Regions from separate parts of the Homo sapiens genome. Here region 1 is linked to region 2. Evidence: promoter capture Hi-C in human tissues and cell types (Jung and others, 2019). All regions are on one chromosome and are shown on one strand. Each heading gives the region's core, a stretch centred on a gene start or on the middle of the fragment in contact. The rest is flanking DNA. Distances are from core to core; before and after follow the strand shown. Region 1 has its middle 9.7 kb from the start of DNMT1. Region 2 holds the start of COL5A3 (collagen type V alpha 3 chain).

Region 1 (2,915 bases), core at 34-2,533, 190 kb after region 2:
CTTCTGGAAGATTCACACAGCTCAACGTTGCCTCAAAACAGAGGCTTCCCCAGACCACTGGGAAGCAACCCTTTACCCACCTAGTCATGCTTTACTATTACTGTTTTTTCGTAGCATTTACCACTGTCAAAGATTCTTTTTTTTTTTTTTTTTCTTTCTTAGAGTCTTGCTCTGTCACCCAGGCTGGAGTGCAGTGGTGCAATCTCAACTCACTGCAACCTCTATCTTCCAGGTTCAGGCAATTATCCTGCCTCAGCTTCCTGAGTGGCTGGGATTCCAGGCACCCACCACCTGGCTAATTTTTTGTATTTTTTTAGTAGAGACGGGGGTTTCACCATGTTGGCCAGGCTGGTCTCGAACTCCTGAACTCAGGTGATCTGCCTGCCTCCGCCTCCCAAAGTGCTAGGATTACAGGTGTAAGCCACTGCACCCAGCCTGAGATTTTCTTATTTACTATCTATCGTAATCTGTCTGTCCCACAAGAACAAAGCAGGGATTGGCACACATTTTCTCTAAAGAACCAGATAAATATTTCGGGTTTCATGAGCCACACATTCTATGCCCCAACTACTCAAACCTGCCATCATCAAAGTGCAGAAATAGCCATCACCAATATGTAAATGAGTAGGTATGACTGTGTTCCAGTAAAACTTTATTTATAAAAACAGATGGCCAGCCAGATTTGGCCTTCAGGCCTTAGTGTGCTGACTCCTCCACAGACTACAAGCTTCAGAGGAATGCAAATATAGGTTGAATTAACATATAGGACATGAGGCCAGGCATGGTGGCTCACACCTGTAATCCCAGCACTTTGCGAGGCCAAGTCAGGTAGATCACCTGAGGTCAGGAGTTCGAGACCAGCCTGGCTAACATTGTGAAACTCCATCTCTACTAAAAACACAAAAATTAGGCCAGACACGATGGTTCACACCTGTAATCCCAGCACTTTGGGAGGCCAAGGCAGGCAGATCACCTGAGGTCAGGAGTCGAGACCAGCCTGGCCAACATGGTGAAACCCTGTCTCTACTAAAAATACAAAAATTAGCTGGGCATGGTGGCGTGCACCTGTAGTCCCGGCTACCCAGAAGGCTGAGGCAGGAGAATTGCTTGAACCCAGGAGGCGGAGGTTGCAGTGAGCCAAGATCGTGCCATTGCACTCAAGCCTGGGCAACAGAACAAGACTCTGTCTCAAAAAAAACCCTCAAAAATTAGCCGTGTGTGGTGTCATGCACCTGTAGTTCCAGCTACTCAGGAGGCTGAGACAGGAGAATTGCTTGAACCCGGGAGGCGGAGGTTGCAGTGAGCCAAGATCACAACACTGCACTCCAACCTGGGCGACAGAGCGAGACCCTGTCTCAAAATAAATAAAAGTAAAGTTGTTTTTCCCCCAACAACAGTGTCATTTCCATTTCACAAACAGAAACCCAAACCAGATCAGGTTACAAACCTAGTTTTGTCTCCAGTTCCTGGGTCATTTGCTTTGTTCACTTGACCACTAGAAATCTCAAACAAAGGGCCAGGCACAGTGACTCACACCTGTAATCCCAGCACTTTGGGAGGCCGAGGCAGGTGGATCGCTTGAGGTCAAGAATTTGAGACCAGCCTGGCCAAAATGGTTAAACCTCATCTATGCTAAAAATATGAAAATTAGCTGGGTGCAGTGGCTCACACCTATAATCCCAGCTACTTGGGAGGCTGAGGCAGGAGAATCGCTTGAACCCGGGAGTTTGAGGTTGTAGTGAGCTGAGATTGTGCCACTGCACTCCAGCCTGGGCAACAGAGTGAGACTCCATCAAGAAAGAGAGAGAGAGAAAGACACACAGAGAGAGAGAAAGCAAGAGAAAGAGAGAGAGAGACAGAGAGAGAGAAAGAGAGAGAGAGAAAGAGAGAGAGAGAAAGAGAGAGAAAGAGAGAAAGAGAAAAAGAGAGAGAAAGAGAGAAAGAGACAGAGAGAGAAAGAGAGAAAGAGAAAAAGAGAGAGAAAGAAAGAGAGAGAGAAAGAGAGAAAAAGAGGAAGAGAGAGAAAGAGAGGAAGAGAGAGAGAGAAAGAGAGAGAGAAAGGAAAGAGAAAAGAAAAGAAAGGAGAAGGCCTGGCGCGGTGGCTCACGCCTGTAATCCCAGCACTTTGGGAGGCCAAGGCGGGCGGATCACGAGGTCAGGAGATCGAGACTATCCTGGCTAACACAGTGAAACCCCGTCTCTACTAAAAATACAAAAAAAATAGCTGGGCGTGGTGGTGAGCACCTGTAATCCCAGCTACTCGGGAGGCTGAGGCGGGAGAATGGCGTGAACCCGGGAGGCGGAGCTTGCAGTGAGCCGAGATTGCACCATTGCACTCCAGCCTGGGTGAAAGTGTGAGACTCTGTCTCAAAAAAAAAAAAAATGAAAGGAGAAAAGAAAGACCAAACAAAGGTCGAGTACAGTGGCTCATGCCTTACCTGAGAGAAGGAAGTGGAGCCTCTAAAAGAAAACAGGTACAGATTTCATGGGCATTCACTCTGCCTCCACCTCTCAGCCTCCAAAGTCACATTTCCTAATATGCCACAAGACAGACTTGCCAGGCCAGGCATGGTGGTTCATGCCTGTGATCCCAGCGCTTTGGGAAGCTGGGGCAGGATTGCTTAAGGACAGGAATTTGAGGCTGCAGTGAGCTATAATCATGCTACTGCACTCTAGCCTGGGCAACAGAGTAAGTCCACATCTCTAAAAAACAAAAAATAAATTTAGGCCGGGCACGGTGGCTCATGCCTGTAATCCCAGCACACTGGGAGGCCAAGGCAAGTGAATCACTTGAGGTCAGGTGTCCGAGACTGGCCACCATGGCGAAACCTCATCTCTACTAAAAATACAAAAATTAGCTGGGCATGGTAGCAGGCGCCTGTAATTCCAGCTACTCGGGAGGCTGAGGCACAAGA
Region 2 (3,358 bases), core at 99-2,598:
GCTGTGGTGTGTGTGTGTGTGTGTGTGTGTGTGTGTGTGTGTGTGTGTGTTGGGAGACTGAGCTCACCTTAGAAAGGGATTTCCAGGAGGACCTAGTCTAGGGTCTCTCAGATCAGGGAAGCCCCATCTCCAACACTTGAGAAGCTACGCCATCCCCTGACTCCCGAAGCGCCCCCCACTCTGAACCCTGAGGGGCGGGACAGGGCGCCCAGCCAGATGCGCGCAGCTGGGCGTGCGTCAGCGCTGACTCACCCATCCGGCGGCCCCCGGGACCCCTTGGGGGCTCCTGAGAAATTCCTCGGGAAAAACACCCAAGGCTCCAGCAGCTGGGGTGGGGAGGGGGGGAGCAACTTCCACTCCTGCCCCGCCCTGCGCCCCGCCCCGTCTCGCCCCTCACCGCGGCCCTCCCCGAAGCCCTGTCCATGGTGCTGATCGCGGCTCTGGGGACCGCGGGGTGGGGGAGGGGGCAACAGGGAGGGAGGGGAGGAGATGGGCGCTCGCCAATTTGGGGCAGAGGAGGAAAAGGGAGAATGAGGTGAAGCCATTTAAAGAGACGCAAAGGAAACTGTGGGTTCCCGAAGAGCACCCCCCAATACTTGTCCCCACCCACCTTCATCCTCATGGGCAATTATTTGCACCCAAAAATCATAACTACACCCCTCATAGCGGCACTCAGAGACACACAATCACACGCATAACCACTCACACGGTTACCCTCGAAAATCAGCACATAGACAAGAGCACAAGTGCATACTCACCTGTCGCAATACACACCGTCCCAGCACTGCCCTGTCACTCACAGTCACACTATCACCATCAACCTCCACACGCAAGCACATACGCAACTTCACTCCAAATGCACACACATGCTACACACACATACACACATGCACACACCTGCACATTGCATGCATTCCCACGCGCTCGCCAGAAAACGCACTCACACATCCCCACCCCCACCCCGAGCTGTCACACCCACAAATCACCCAGAGTCAGATACTCATGCGCCCACATCACACCGGGGCCGCACGCGGCGCCCACGCCCTTCCCCTCCACGCCCCTCCACCCCCCTCCACCCCTCGCTCTTTTAGAGCCTCTCTGAGTCGTGGACCCTGGGTCCCATCTCTTCCCTCCCGGCTCACCGGCCTGCGTCCCCGGCAGAAGCTGCAGCGCGGCCAGGAGCAGGCAGAGACCGGCCCGCGGCTGGCCCAGGTCCCGGCGGTTCCCCATCCCGGCGGGGCCCACGGGCAAGGCGGGGAACCAGTCGGGGCGGCTGCGGGGCGCGGCGACTTCTCGGGCTCGGTGCAGTCACTCGCGGCGGCCGCTCCTCTCAGGGTCCGCGGGAAACTGCCCGAGACCCCGCCCTGGCCTCGCCCTGCGCTCCAGCGCCTGGCCAGGCGGGGCTTTTTGGAGGGGGAGCGCTGACAGCTGGACTGGGAAGTTGGGAAACTTTGTGCTGAGGGCTGATTGGCTGGCTGGGGTGGAGCCCAGCGCCAGGAGCTGGGTTGTTCCTGCCCCACCCCACTGTGGAGGAGAAGGGTCACTCCCACCCAGCCCTAGAGTTCGAGGGTTCCAGTCTTACCCCAAACCTTTTCCGCCTAGCAGATCCCCTCAAAGGAGACCTTAACCTCATTCAAGACTTCAGCCTCCATCCAGGCCCTAGAATTAGGAGGAGGTGCAGCTTTATACCAAATCTTTTTTATTTTCTATTATTTTTACATTTTATTTTGGAGACAGGGTCTTGATCTGTCACCCAAGCTGGAGTGCAGTGGTGCAATCATAGCTCACTGCAGCCTCCAACTCCTGCGTTCAAGCCATCCACCTGCCTCAGCCTCCTGAGAAGCAGGTACCACAGGCACACACTGCCACACCCAGCTAATTTTAAAATATGTATATTTTGTAGAGACCGGGATCTTGCTATGCTGCCCAGGCCGGTCTTGAACTTCTGGTCTCAAGCGATCCTCCGGCCTTGCCCTCCCAAAGCGCTGGAGTTACAGGCATGAGCCACCGCCCCTGGCACCAAGTCCTTTCTGCCTCACTCAGGCCCCCAACTGGGGTCCCAACCTCACCCCGAACTCTCACTCACCTACCTGCTTTATCCTCAGTCCCTCAGCTGCACAATAGGAGGTACCAGCCTCAGCCCCAAAGCCTTTCCTTCAAGTCCCTAACGGGTCCTCATCCCACCTCAAATCTCACCCCAGATCCCAAAATGGGGTCCCCAGCCTTACTCCAAACCTTCATCTGTCCACTCAAATCCCTAAGTCACGTGTCCTGGTCCCAAATTCTCACCACAGATCCCAAAACACAGTTTTCACTTTCCCCAAATTCTTGATTCCTCAAATAAAGGGTCTCATCTCCATCCCTAACCCTCATCTCCCCCCGCCCCAACTCAGGTCTCCAGTGGATGCCCCGGCCTCAATCCCAAATCCCCACCAAATGAGGGAGTCTGAGCTGGGTGCGGTGGCTCATGCCTGTAATCCCAGCATTTTGAGAGGCTGGGGCGGGCAGATCGCTTGAGTCCAGGAGTTAGAGATCAGCTGGCCAACATGGCGAAACCCCATCTCTACTAAAAATACAAAAATTAGCCAGGCATTGTGACTGGCGCCTGTAGTCCCAGCTACTTGGGAGGCTGAGGTGGGAGGATCACTTGAACACGGGAGGTGGAGGTTGCAGTGAGCTGAGGTTGTGCCACTGCGATCCAGCCTGGACAACAGAGCAAGACTCTGTCTGTCTCAAAAAAAAAGGCCGGCGCGTTGGTGGGAGGTGGTGGGAATCTGTCCCTGTCGCAAAGCAACGCACAGCCACTGGGGAGGAAGGGGTGGATTCTTGCCATTCTTGGGATGAGGCAGAGGCCCCCCTCACCGTGCTGGGACCCCCACCTCCAGCATGAAGAGGCCCCCATGAGGTCAAATAGAGCTTTTATGCAATTGGACAAGCGCAGACACGCAGGATGTGAGGGTGTTTCCCCAGGGAGGGGAGGAACCAAGAGGCGTATTCTGAGCCCTGAACTGCTCCCCGAACCCTGCTTCCCCCACCTCCGCCCCAGGGGAAGAGGGAGACGCAAGCAGTGCCTCCCTCCCAGCCTCTGACTCCCCAGACAAAGAGTCTCTGTGTCCCTGAAGAGGAGGGGTTGGGGCCCCATCAAGCCTGAGGGGGAGATGGGGGCCCCCCAGGGTGGGAGGAGGAGAGGGTATCTCTGTAAGCTGTGCCTCCTCCCACCCCAGGGACATCTGAGGCTGAGACTTCTCCAACTAAAAGACTCTCACAAAATTCCTGCCCTGCCCTGCCTTGCTGGAAGTTCTTCCTATAGTCTAACTACATCTTCTGACAGTTCTACACCCCTTCCCTCTATGAAACA

What was found. The method cuts DNA at HindIII sites, captures the fragments that hold promoters and counts their contacts. A contact is called where the count stands out against the background at its distance.
Region 1: a fragment that was not itself captured here is called in contact with the fragment with the promoter of COL5A3 in region 2 in 1 of the 25 tissues and cell types used here (pancreas).

What each region holds. Positions count from the first base shown.
Region 1 is chr19:10,203,236-10,206,150 of GRCh38, forward strand. No RefSeq gene overlaps it. Among named protein-coding and RNA genes, the nearest start is that of DNMT1, 9.7 kb to the left of the region's middle. The HindIII fragment of the contact is 3,473 bases long and covers 1-2,915 here.
Region 2 is chr19:10,009,156-10,012,513 of GRCh38, forward strand. COL5A3 (collagen type V alpha 3 chain) reads right to left here and starts at 1,349. Exons shown (of 67, transcript NM_015719.4): 1 at 1,143-1,349. The coding sequence starts at 1,230. The HindIII fragment of the contact is 11,359 bases long and covers 1-3,358 here.